Regions from separate parts of the Homo sapiens genome. Here region 1 is linked to region 2. Evidence: promoter capture Hi-C in 16 types of primary human blood cells and fetal thymus (Javierre and others, 2016). All regions are on one chromosome and are shown on one strand. The core of a region is centred on a gene start or on the middle of the fragment in contact, and the rest is flanking DNA. Distances in the headings are between cores, read along the strand shown.

What was found. The method cuts DNA at HindIII sites, captures the fragments that hold promoters and counts their contacts. A CHiCAGO score of 5 or more calls a contact.
Region 1: a contact is called between a fragment that was not itself captured here and the fragment with the promoter of COX6C in region 2, in 1 of 17 cell types (fetal thymus). The highest score is 5.8, in fetal thymus.

The regions. Positions count from the first base shown.
Region 1 is chr8:98,933,018-98,940,373 of GRCh38, forward strand. LOC112268016 (collagen alpha-1(I) chain-like) reads right to left here. Exons shown (of 2, transcript XM_047422523.1): 1 at 4,618-7,356. It also overlaps a transcript of STK3 not described here. Among named protein-coding and RNA genes, the nearest start is that of OSR2, 7.7 kb to the right of the region's middle. RefSeq lists a silencer at 7,052-7,301. The HindIII fragment of the contact is 2,000 bases long and covers 3,132-5,131 here.
Region 2 is chr8:99,889,921-99,896,233 of GRCh38, forward strand. COX6C (cytochrome c oxidase subunit 6C) reads right to left here and starts at 3,787. Exons shown (of 4, transcript NM_004374.4): 1 at 3,719-3,787; 2 at 1,988-2,132. The coding sequence starts at 2,101. RefSeq lists enhancers at 2,629-3,277, 3,278-3,925 and a silencer at 3,399-3,568. The HindIII fragment of the contact is 2,962 bases long and covers 1,824-4,785 here.

The DNA.
Region 1 (7,356 bases), core at 2,882-5,381, 960 kb before region 2:
ATGAGAGACCTGGGTTATATCGTCTCTAAACTACATTCCATGATCCTAAATCCTCTAACTCCAACACATAGAATGGGGTCAGACCAAGTTACATGGCCTTTTCTAACTCTGCAGGTTATTAGGTATTGTATTCTAAAGAGTCAGCATGAGTATTTTACATCCTTTGGTATGTTTGTTGTAAAACATATGTGTCCTTCCTATGTATCAGTTGTGTACATTACTATTTAGACATGTAATAACACCCTAAAAAAGCGAAATACATTTGTATGTGGGGAGTTGATAAAAGAAAATACTATTGTATACAGACCGAAAAACATTATCCTTTATTTTTAAAATATTGTAAGCACTGGCATAAACAAGGCATAGCTTACAGATGTGTGTAAATCTGCACAAATTGTGCACATTTACTATTTGGAGGGGGAAATGTATTTTAAAAATTGTTTGGACTATATGTCCTTTTTCTTTTTAGCAGAGTGGGGAGTCAAAAGAATTGAATTACAGGGTAGAATATAAAATATCTCCTTTAAGGAAATAAATGTGTAATAGGAACTATCTATCCAATTCTCTCAGGCATGGGAAGCCCTTGGGGCTCATGTAAATTGTATATAAGTATGTCTTCAGTGTCACTCCAGATGTTTTTGCAGGGAAATAATCCCTCTCCCCATATATTGGCATCAACACCCTGCATGTAACCTCCATACTCAAACTTGCCCCAAGCCAAGCAGCATCCTGAAGAGTGATTCCAGGTGAGATTGGGGAGCTCTAGGCCCTTCCTGCCACCCTCCTTCCATACCTATGTTACTAAATATACTTCTAGACTTGGAAGAGAGAATAGAGCCTGTAAGTATTAACACAGGACAAGGCTCAGAAGCAAAGTTAACCCACCAGGCAGAGAGGTCAGGCCAGGACAATTTTAAATGGTAATTAAGTCTCTCCACACTTATCTTTAGAGATTGTCCTTGGGCTCTGGCTGAGCAGGGCCTTCCCTGCTGTGTGTGGGGTCTGCTTGCAGTTTTGACTCTGCCCCTCTGGGGAACCCAAGCTGCACATTTTTTTCTGCAGCCTCTGACTATGAGGTTATATTAATAAAAAGGCCATTCCTGCCTTTAGCAGTTGCCGACCAAGTCTGCTTTATATGGCAACAGAGCCAGGAAGAATCCAGGGCTTCAGTACAGGGACTTTTCCACTAGTATGTACTGTTTTGTTTCATTTCCTATTCCATCTTCCAAGGAAAAAATGAAGTCCTGCTGCAGAAGACCCAGTCACTAGGCCCACCTGACACCTAGTACATATCTGACAAAAGGAATGCTGCCATGTGGTACAAGTGGCCTTCCCCAACAATCCCCAGCCAGGTTCCTGAAACCTCTCTTTTCCAAGTCCGACCCACCTTCTTTGTTCACACCTCCCCACTCTAAGAAGAAAGCTGCATATCGGAAGCCACAACTAAGAGTGAACAAAAAGGGGCAAGTAGTGGCAATATGCTCAGGGGTTCCAAAGTAGAATCCTGCCAATGCATATAGTGCTTAAAACCATAAAAGCAGCAAAGGTGTCAGTGAAAACGATGTAGAACCAATGACAGTGATTATGGTGCCAACACATATAAGATGACATATGTAGGCCGGGCACGGTGACTCATACCTGTAATCCCAGCACTTTGGGAAGCCAAGGTGGATGGACCACCTGAGGTCAGGAGTTCGAGACCAGCCTGGCCAACATGGTGAAACCCCGTCTCTACTAAAAATACAAAAATCAGCCAGGTGTGGTGGCATGCTCCTGTAATCCCAGCTACTCGGGAGGCTGAGGCAGGAGAATAAGCTTGAACCCAGGAGGTGGAAGTTGCAATGAGCTGAGATTGTGCCACTGCACTCCAGCCTGGGCAACAGAGCGAGACGCCGTCTCAAAAATAAAATAAAATAAAATAAAATAAAATAACATGACATATATAAAGAGCAAAGCACAAGCCTAGACATCCTATGGCTAAAACTGTTGGTTGTCTCCCTATATCCATTCTCCTTTTCTTTAGTAATAGAAGTCTGAATTTAAACTGGGCACATGGCTACCCAGAGTAAAGACTACATTTCCTAGCCTCCGTTGCAGCTAGATATGCCTGGTGACTAGGTTCTGCTTTCTGTGGAGTCTCCTTAGAGGTGGGGGTGGGGGGCTTGCCCTCCTTCATGCCTTCCTTCTTGCTGTGGGTCAGAATGCAGCTATCTTGGACCATAAAGTAAGAGTCATGGCTTGAAGTTGGTGAAAACACATGATAGAATGAGCCCAAGTACCTGATAATGAAGAAGCTATCCACCATATTGATGCTGGCTTGTCTATATTTATGTGGGAGAAGTCAACTTCTCTGTTGTTTAAACCCATGTTAATTTGGATTTTCTGATACACACAGCTCAATTGTATTTTAATACAATCTCCTTCCTCAAGGCCTCATACATCAATAGTATCCCCAAATTAATTGCATCATTATTTCATTAGAGAATAGCATCCAAAATAATAACTTAGAAGCTTAAAACAACCTATTCATTATAGATTCACTCCATGTATTCTCTAATTGCAATTAAAACAAGATTATAATATAATGCATGGTACTGTATTCCTACTTTTCAGTAAAAAATGAAAATGTAGACATTTTCTCTTGGTAAAAGTCTTACTGTCAAAGCAGATGAGTAACTTTTTCTCTAACATTTGTTCCAACAGCTTAAATTGTATACTCTTGATAACCAGATAATAGGTATTGAGTCAAATTTCTTCCCCTTGGTTTTCTCTCCAACTTCTTACATGGATAGGAGGAATAATTTTGTAAGGTCAGTTCATGTTAATGGGTAAGAAAAAGTCATAACTACTAAGAGCATTAATATGGATCCATGTTATTTATTTATTTATTTTTGTTTTTATTTATTTATTTTTTTTTGAGGTGGAGTCTCACTCTGTCGCCCAGGCTGGAGTGCAGTGGCCCAATATTGGCTCACTGCAAGCTCCACCTCCCGGGTTCATGCCATTCTCCCACTTCAGCCTCCCAAGTAGTGGGACTACAGGTGCCCGCCACCACACCAGCTAATTTTGTTTTTGCATTTTCAGTAGAGACAGGGTTTCACTGTGTTAGCCAGGATGGTCTCGATCTCCTAAGCTTGTGATCCACCTACCTCAGCCTCCCAAAGTGCTGGGATTACAGGCGTGAGCCACCATGCCTGGCCTGCATCCATGTTATTTAACCCTCAGAATATCCTTAATTTGCAGATTCAGACACAGAGGGTTCAACAAGCAACATGACTTGCCCAACATAATAGAGCTATTAACTAGGGATCTTGGATCCAGGGTTTCTGATGCATACGATATCATAATTGCCTATTTACTTGTACATCTTCCCAGTAGACCATAGCTCCAAATTCATTATTGCGTTCCCAGTACCTACCACAAGGCCTACCATACCAAACATCCTCAATAAATGTACATTAAATGAATTACCAACTCTAAAATACCACTCTGCTATTGCTCCCTTGCTCTGCAAGTGTTCTACAAACCAATGCCCTTAATATATTCCAGGTCACTCCCAGGCCATATGGCTTGTCAAGAGAATGTGGTCAATGATGAGACAGAGGGGGAGCAGGACTAGTGAACACACCCATATGACACACTTGTTCTCCACACTCTCCTGGGCCTGGGCGGGCCCACCACGTAGGGCATTTGGATGTGTGCCTCATGGCCTGGGAGACAACTTGCACTTAGTGTACTTTTCCAGGAAAAGAAAAAGACAACCATGGTCTAACACGTTAGAAACACTGCTGCCTGGTGTTCTGACATCATAGCATCCACCCAGTTTGATTCCTGGAGGCAAGCCCACTTGCAAAGCATGGGCCAGGGATGGTATGGGGGAAAGGACAAGGGAAGAGGGGTTTGGTGACTGAAAAGTGAAGTATGTGGCTAAGACAAGCAGTATGAGCAGACACTGTAAAGAGTGGAGGGGGGCTTCTCATACTGGTATGTCTCCAGATCCATTGAAGTTTTCTGTGTTTTGGGCTCAGAGGCAAAGATAACAGAGCTCATCACTTCTTATAAGACCAGTATTCTTTGAAACTTTGATCTGAGCTGGTCCTGCTCCAAATTCTCCCAAAAAACTATGAGGATGGGGCCAATCTAGCCGTCTGCCTCTTCCCTTACTCCTCCTCCAGCAAGGGTGCCAGAAGAAGAATGATTTGTTTTTTCTCTGTGGCTCCTTACAGTCAGGAAGTGAGAATCAGCTTGAGTGAGCTATGGTCACCAATCACAATGAAGCTACAGTGGAATTATCACCTGGCATGAAGTGAAATAACATCATTATAAAATGTTGTCTTCCAGTTGGAAAGCCAGAAGTTAAGCCTGTGCTGGCATTCACTTTCTAATAAATGGGCTGGCTTAAACATTGATTTTCTCTCCTTGACTTATAAAAATGACTAAAAATGTAAGACAGAATTCAATAAATGTTTTAAAGATTGCCATTAAATACAAATACTTTAACAATTTAACAAAACCAAGGGGATCCAACCTTAAAATTCCACCTTCCTTGTCCTCACTTCTACCCCCAAGTCAGGATGAAAGTTCAAGGTTTCAAACAATAGCACAATTGCCTCTTACCTGGTACATAGTAGACACTCAAGAAAACTGTTGAAAAGGAATTGTATGTGCCTTATTAGTCGGTACTTCACAGGATTTTTAGAGTTGGCTTGACTTGGATTAGATTCAAGAATAGTGTATTAGCCCTCCAGGGGAATATTCACAGGCAAACAGCTACAAGGATATACTACATTTTCCTTTGTTAAAACTTGTATCTGCATTCAAATATTGGCCTTGGCATTTCCTAAGGGCTGGCTGCTTTGAATGTTACTATATCAAACCATCTGCACTGGGAAGCAAAATTCTGTTAAGAAATAGAATCACTGGTAGTAAAGAGATTACCACATTCCTGACCACTGTAACATCTTATATTTTGAGAATCCCCATAAGAAAAGGTCATTTGAAAATAGCAACCCTTTGTCAAAGTGGAGATGATGAATACTTTTGTACAATTTATGACTATGGTCAGTATGAAAATTCATTTTTGTTTATATGCGTTTTCAGTGGCTTCCCTGCACTGACTCACTAAAATTAAAGCTTAAAAAAAAAAACTAAAAAAACTTGAAAATAGATGATGACAAGAGGCTTCCAGTTAGACGGGATTTTGGGGAGGCAAAGTGCCTTCTATTGTTCACTGCCCAAAACTAGAAAATCCTGGAGGGAAGCAAATGGTCCAGTGGAGGCAGCTCTTTGGCCGAGGAGAGAAGTTCAAGTGAAGGTCCTAGAGAGAAAGTGCAAAGTGAACAATCATAAGGGAAGTTGACTTGGCATAAGAAGACTAGAAAGTGCCAGTGTCATTCAGATTTTTAGTTGGGGGAGAAGGGAGACTATTTTATACTCCCTCAAGAAAAGCAAAGGGACTTGATTCCATCTTAAGGTGACAAATCAGGACGCCAATGCTGGATGCACTTGAAGGTGGAGAGCTAGGCAGATTGAGGCAGCAGGAAGCAGGGTGGGAGCCAGTGTGCACCAAGTGGGTGAGGGGAACATGTGAGTCAGTTCCAGCTGTCCTCAGACCCTCCTGCCCAGCCTCAGGGTAATCCAGGGGCACAGAGACTCTGAGCCCTGGCCCACCCGTGGTCCCTCGGATTTTGACACTCCCTCACCCCCAGTGTCATGCACTCTGACCTACTGCAGGGAGGGTTGGCAAGGTGTGGGCAATGTGTGTCAAGATGTGTGTGGAAGGTGTGCAGTAGACACACAGAATCCCTAAAATGTGATGAAAATAAAAGAATGACATCGGCACGGACAAGGAAGGCAGGCAAGTGTTACAAATAGTTAGAAACTGTAAAATGAGGTGCGACATTTCCGGAAATCAGTCAGATCTAGTATTAGATAATACTAATTAACAACAACTGGCCGTGAAAGAAGGCACCCGCACTTTTTCTCCATTGCTCTCCCCACCATCTTATGCCGACTCCTTGCGGGGAGGGGTACAGCCTTGTTCCCCTAGGTATCCTAAGCTCGTTTCCAAGTACTTGAAGGTGCCTTTGGAAAGTCTGATGAATGAGAAATAAGTGAGCGAGTGAATGAATGAATAAGCTGCCTAAAGCAGATGCGTTTATGCGTGCATTCTCTCGAGTGAAGGAAGAAGGAAGAGGTAGGGACGGAGGAGGAGAGAGAGCACGCGCGGGAAAGATAAATCGCGCCCGCCCGCGATGGACCCCAATGTCAATCTGATCTAGGTTAGTGGTTCTCAAACTTTACCATGCATCAGAATCACCTGGAGGGCTTGCTCAAACACAGATTGCCAGGCCCCACTCCCAGTTTCTGACTTAGTAGGTGAGGCCAGAGAGTTTGCATTTCTAACAAGTTCCAGATGATGCGAATGCTGTTGGACCACACTTTAAGAACCGCTGCTCTAGAGGGTAACTCGGACCTATCCCAGCGTCCCAGGGAAACGAAATCTGCAGTGAGAAATGGAACGTCCAAGGCAATCTTCAGCCGGCCTTTTAAAAACAAGTCTGGAGACGGGAGGGTAGCGCTGCTCAGCTCCAGCCAACTCACTGCCGCGTAGGAACGGAGGTCATCGGAAATCAAGATTTCCGTTTGAATTTTCCCAAAGTTTAAGCGTTGGCAAGTGCGTTGAAAAACACACACAATATGAAAGCCTAATAAAAATATAGGTTTGCAGACCGTGCCCTAGTCTTTTCCGAGGATGTTCTTTTCTGTCATCCATCGTCTACCCACGTTGAGCACGACAGCCGGGCCAGTCCCGCCCTGGGCGGTTGGGGCCTTCCCAGAGGGGCCCGGTGCGGAGAGCCCCCCTCTCCCCGGATGTGTCTGGGGCCTGTCCTTCACTGCGATGTCATCGGTAAACCTGGTCTTCCTTGTCACGGACACTGAAGCGCTTGGTTCGAAAAGCACCATGAATTCGAAGCAGCCTTGGACGCGGGATCATGGGCGTTAGCCTGGCTCTCTCCGACGAGGCAAACTGCAGGAGATCCCCTTCCCTGGAGTCACCGGAAGGCGAAAGCACGCTCTGTGCCCGCGCGCCGCCCCGGGAGCCCGCTCCTACCCCCTCGGCGTGCGGCGCGGGCCTGGAGACCGCGGAGCCCGAGCCGTATCCAGCTTGTGCAGGAGCCGGTGCGCCCTTCCGCCCGCTCCTCCCCCGGGACCATCCTCACGCTCCAGGGTCGCGGAGGCATCTTGCGACTAGCGAGGGGCTGACGGTGGCCTGGGTGGCCTTGCGCCGGCTCTGGGCTCCGCCGCTGCGGCAGCCGAGGGCCTCAGCTGGGAAATCCAAACCCGGGCTGGACC
Region 2 (6,313 bases), core at 2,537-5,036:
CTCTACTAAAAAATACACAAAAAATTAGCCGGGTGTGGTGGCGGACGCCTGTAGTCCCAGCTACTCAGGAGGCTGAGGCAGGAGAATGGCGTGAACCCGGGAGGCGGAGCTTGCACTGAGCTGAGTTCACGCCACTGCACTCCAGCATGGGCAACAGAGTGAGACTCCATCTCAAAAAAACAAAAAAAAAAAGAAGAAAGGCCCAGCTAATTTTTGTATTTTAGTAGAGACGTAGTTTCTCCATATCGCCCAGGCTGGTCTTGAACTCGTGAGCTCAAGCAATCCGCCCACCTCAGCTTCCCAAAGTGCCAGGATTACAGGCATGAGACACCAGACCCAGCCCCTCTCCCTAACTTGCAAGGCTCAAATTCCACCTCCTCTATCAAATAGCTATGACCCACAATAACTGTGAACCACAACATCCCCCAAAACCATTCTTTCAGTTATGTTCTATCTTGCAATGTCTTCTAATTTTTTTCACCTCCCCAACTTGACTCTAAGTTCTTTAAGAACAGAGATTTAGCTACATGCCTTTTGTGTCCTCCAAAGCACTTGAAACTCTACATTACCCAACACTGTACTGAATTTTATACACTGCCTCTTATTCAACAGGTCCTTTTAATAACCTATTTGTGTGTCAGGCACCCAACAACAGGGTGCCACAGTAAACAAAAGACATGGTACCTGCCTTAATGAGGCTCACAGCCCAGTAAAGAACATAAACACTAAACAAAAATTAAATACAAAGAGTTATAAAAGCAAAGCTCTGAATTCTTTCATGGGGTATTATGACAAGCATGATAAACATATACATATTATCAAAAACATTTTTACGGAAAAGTTGTAAATGTGCAGCCTTTGATTAAAAATAAAGGGCATAACAAAATCCACATTAGGCAGAGTGTTAAAACGCAATTCTGTGACAATTACTCAAGGTGTCAAACAGAACTATAATCGGCCCACCATTCCTGCACGTTCCACACTCATGGATTCAAAATAATAAAAAATGCTACAAAATTAAAAATACAATATAAACTATTGACATAGCATTTACATTGCATTAGGCATTATAAGTAGTCCAGAGATGATTTAAAATATCGTCAGGGCTCCTGAACCAATTCCCCATGGATAGAGGGGCAGCTATGCTGCCTTCCCAGCCCCTCTGCATACTAGCTTCTGTAATGGGTTGAATTGTGTTTGACCAAAACTCATGTGTTTAAGTCCTAACTCTCAGTACCTCAGAATCTAAACGTTTTTTGGAAATAAGGGCTTTATAACTAAGTTAAAATGAGGCCTTTAGGGTGGGCCCTAATCCAATATGAGTGATGTTCTTTTAAGAAATTCAGCAGGCCAGGTGTGGTGGCTCATGCCTGTAATCCCAGCACTTTAGCAGGCCAAGGCAGGTGAATCCCTTGAGCCCAGGAGTTCAAGACCAGCCTGAACAACGTGGCCATCTCTGAAACCTCATCTCTACAAAAAATATAAAAATTAGCCAGTTCCGGTGGTGTGTACCTGCAGTCCCAGGTACCGGGAGACAGAGTAAGACCCTGTTTCAAAGAAAGAAAAAGGAAAGAAGGAAAGAAAATGAAAAGAAGGGCAGAAAAAGGAAAGGAAGGAAAGGTAAAGGAAAAGAAAGGGAAAGAAGTTCAGCTACAGATATATGCCCACAGAGGACCCTGTGAAGACAAAGGGAGCCATCTACAAGCCAACAGAGGCCTCAGAAGATATCAACCCTGCCAACAGATTTCTAGCCTCCAGAACTGCGAGCAAATTTAAGGCACCCAGTCTGTGGTTCTTTGTTACGGCATTCCAGCAAACTAACAAGCTTCATTTAAAGATGGAGGACAAGCTATAGTTCCTGTCACACTGAGGTGAGTGCAGAAAGGGTTAGAAAGAAACACATTACAAGGGGGAGTTTCTTTAAAAGATTTTTCAACCAAAAACACATACTTTATGACCTTCGGCACAAAGTAAAAAACATACATACCTTATACAAAGCTGCAACCCCCAGGGATAGCACGAATGCTACAGCCATATGATTTCGCAGACGCCTGGCCAGAAGGCCACGCATCCGAGGTTTTGGCAAAACTTCGGGAGCCATGGTAGTTACTGTCCTTGATACGTATGCTAACCTTAAGAGATTCAGAAAATATGATTAAGTACAGAGTTTATTTAAGCCACAAACTTGAGAATGGCCACCTGGAAGCATTGATTGGAGCTGCCCTGAATATACACTCCGATTAGCAGCAGTTACAAATGAATGTTTTTCTTTTTTGGCAGAAACAGGGTCTAGCTATGCTCCCCAGGCTGGTCTTAAACTCCTGCCCTCAAGTGATCATCCTACCTCGTCCTCCCAAAGTGCTGGGATTCCGGCCTACAAGTGAGTTAAGAAAAAATGAGAGGCAATTCCTAAACTGTTTATCAAAAATTTACATTAAAATAACATAAGCTATTGACTGACTAAACGCTGTCCTTTATATCACAAATTCAGGAATAAGATTTGGGTTGAGACATGGGTGAGGGGCGGCACTGAAGTCCAATACTCAGGTCTCTGCGTCCTGCATACCTCATGTAGCTCTCACTACTCTGAGCTTTTTTTCCCTTTCTCGGGTAAAATAATAAAAGAAAAACTCAGAAAAGATATCAAAAGGAATTCTCATGCATAGTACATTTTACTACCTAGAGAGGCACAGCACGACAGTGGATGGATTCCTCCCACAAAGCCTAAGCTGTCTCTTGGCTTAGCCTGTTTCATCTTCCCCCCGCCCCCCATATACTGAGCGACCACCCTAAATAAACGCGACAAACTGCGGCACACTAGTAATGGACGAGCAAAGGCAACAAAAATCTTTCCAACAACAAGAAAAATAAGCAGTAGCTCCGCATTGGTAATTAACGATTGCAAACCCATTTATGCAACACTTTCTCTTCTAAAAATTTTCTGTCCACTCGTTAAACCTTCGCGACAACCCTGTCAGATCATGAGGCAGGTGTTTTCCACGGTCACACGGTATACCATTAAAACCTGGACGGGAACGCGGCAAATACCATGAGGGCCCAAATTCCCTAACTGCTCCTTTGCCCAGCCTCACCTAAAGACCTAAGGGGCCTAAAAACTTTTGCGTCCCTGCTGGCCTTCAGCTAACGCGGCCGGGGGTAGGATGGGAAGCCGTGGGGCAAGGGAGGTTGCAGGAAGCCCATCCTTCCCCTCCTGCGGCAGGTACGGTGACCCTCCTCCAGTTTTCCAGCTCTAATTTAAAACGCTGCCACACAGCGAGCGACGCTGCCAGCTGCTTCGCCTACACTAACCCTTGCGCCTCACGACCAGCTGCATTAGAAACCACCACCCCTTTTCTCACGGGAGAAACACCGGGGCCAGATAGGTCAAATGACCTCACCAAGGTCACAATGGCTGTGAAAAAGCGCAGCGGGTACCAGCCCCGGGCCAGCTCACTCCGAAGCCAGCTGGGTTCTCGAGGGTCCCGCAGCCCACCCGGCTTCGGTGGGGCCGTCGCAACCCACCCCGGTCCGTGGTCCGCCCGCCGCCCTCCCTCAGGCCGCAGCGGAAGCGTGAGAGAGTAGATGCGGGAGAGGCCTGAAGCTGCACCACGGCGGAGACACACAGTCACGACTAAATCCGAGGCAGAGAGAAAGCGGGAGGGTGCCGTTGTGACAACCCGCAGTGTCGGGGTAGGGATGCAAAAGGGACCGGACTCACCTCAACACCAACGTCCTTCCTGACTAAAGGAAAAACGAACCGTGCTGTAGCCGCGCGCAGGCGCAGAATAAGAGTGCACAGCGAGAACGCGGCGACGGTAGCCGAAGGAGTTCAAAAGACCTCTAGTGCGCCCACCGCAGGTGACAGCCGAAGTTCATTTCGTGGTCTGCTTCTTTCCTGTGTGACCTTGCAAAACGGGCTTGACCTCCTTATTTATCGACCTCTTTATCTTCTTAGTAAATTGAAGATATTAGTCGTACTCATACACAGAGTCCCAAACCATGTGCACAAACCGACATTTTAATTATAACCAACCTTACGCGAATAACCGTTTGGCTTGGGTAAAAGTGAAAAAGCTGACTTCTAGGAGCTCACAGCCCAGAAGATGAAAAAGACAAACAGATTAATACCGATCCCATGCAGTGGGCACTACCACAGAGACGTGGCCCAGCTACTGCAGAAGCAATTCTCTACCTGGCAAAGCTGAGGACGTTTTGATAGAGGGGCGGTATTTTTGTGGGTTTCTTAAGAAAACAAGGATTTTGAAGGAAGGCAACTGGAAGTTCGTGGAAAGTGGTGTAGAAGGGTGAGGCTCTTGTGCCTTAATGATGCCAGGCTGTTTGTATTGAAATAACCTGAATTTTAAAAGCATTATTTAAGTCAACCCATCAAGCCCTGTGGAAGGTAGCTGGGACACAACAGATGCATGATATTGAGTCGATATATACACTGAGTACCTACTATGTGCCAGATTCTGCTAAACAAGAGGACAGATCTTCGGGGAGTCTCATTCTGATCAGGGAGTCTTTGTCCTCAACCTATTAACCAACACTCTGGAGGGTGAAACCTGGCCACAAAGAAAGGTGCTCAATTGAGGTTCAAAAGTAGGTTTGGACTTTACCAACGTTTTTCAGGCCTCTTATCAAGGGTCTACCCAGCTGAAAATCTTTGCATGGAATTTGTCCAGAGAGTAATTTGTTTCTATTCTCTTTCCATCCCCACCCCCAGAGAAGAAGTGGTGAACTTAAGAGTTCACAGGGATTAGTGTATGTGAAACCATCAGGGAAAGCTTCAGACAATACGTGGAAGAGATGGAAGCAGAGCTGAGTTTCAGTCTAATGGAAAGCCTGGAAAACTGGAGAAATTGGAGAGAAAACATTGGCTGGGAGAACATGGCAAAGACAGGCACACTCAGGGCACAGAGCCTGACCTGAGTGAAATACTGAGTGTTTGTTCTGTGCTTCCCTAGCTATCCAGTGAACCATAGTGAATGACTGAGGGTGACACGTGAATAAAACCTGAGCGATAGATGAAGAGAGACATGTTACATATAGGTTCTGTTCTAGAGCCGAACAGACCTGGATTTGAGTCCCAGCTCATCAACTTGTAGCGGCAAATTTCTTCATCTTTCTAAGTCTGCTTTCTCCTCTAAAAATAGTACCCATTTTGTTGGGTTGTGATGTAAATTAAATGGGATAATGTATATGCAGCTTGAGTATCCCTTATCTGAAATATTTGAGACCAGAAGTGTTTCAGATTTTGGATTTTTTCAGATTTTTGAGTATTTGCAGAATACATGCCAGTTGAGCATCCCAATCTGAAAATCTGAAATCCAAAATGCTCCACTGAGCATTTCCTTGAGCATCACATCAGTGCTCAAAAAGTTTTGGATTTTGGAGCGTTTTGGATTTTGGATTTTCAGATTAAGGGTGTTCAACCTATACAGTGCTTGACAAACAGACATTCTGAATATGCATTCCTCCCTGTGTTCTTTTGCCTGTCCTGCATTCCTTCAATCTTTCTTTTAGTAGCAGTGCTTAATCAATCCTTCATCACTTCTAGCCATGTGATTCTACAACAGTCAAATCTTATTCCAGACTGGGTGTGGTGGCTCACACCTGTAATCCCAGCACTTTGGGAGGCCAAGGAAGGCAGATTACTTGAGCCCAGGTGTTGGAGACCAACCTGAGCAACATAGACCACCATCTCCATAAAAAACTTTAAAACTTAGCCGGGCATAGTGTGATTTATGCCTATAGTCCCAGCTACTCAGGAGGCTGAGGCTGGAGGATCACTTGAGCCCAAGAGTTGCAGGCTGTAGTGAGCTATGACTGCACCACTGTACTCCAGCCAGACAGAGTGAGACCCTGTCTTTAAAAAGAAAAAGAAAAAACATTATTCCAGTTGAGCAGATGACCCAAGAGTAGCCAAGCAATGTAGCCCATCCCCTTGGCCACAGTAATTTGTTGAGGATGGGCACAGGATTCTGGCCAGGCCAGTGAAACTCAATTCTATGACTTCTGTTGAAACTACTGGGGGAAAAGATATCTTTTTATAGAGAGAGGAGTTTGCATTGGGTTGCAGTAGGGGTCTTGCAGATCTGTGAGAGTATAAAGCCAGAGGGTACTGTGTGCCTATAATGTGCCAAGCACAGCACATGACAAAATGGCATGAAAAGCCTCATGAAGCTTTCATTCTAGTGGGCTTCGAGGAAAAAACCAACAAAAATAAAAAATATATCTGAAGGAGGTAAGTGGAATGGAAACAACAGAGTAGGGGTAAAGAAAGTCTGTGTGAAGAGGTATCTTTTTATAT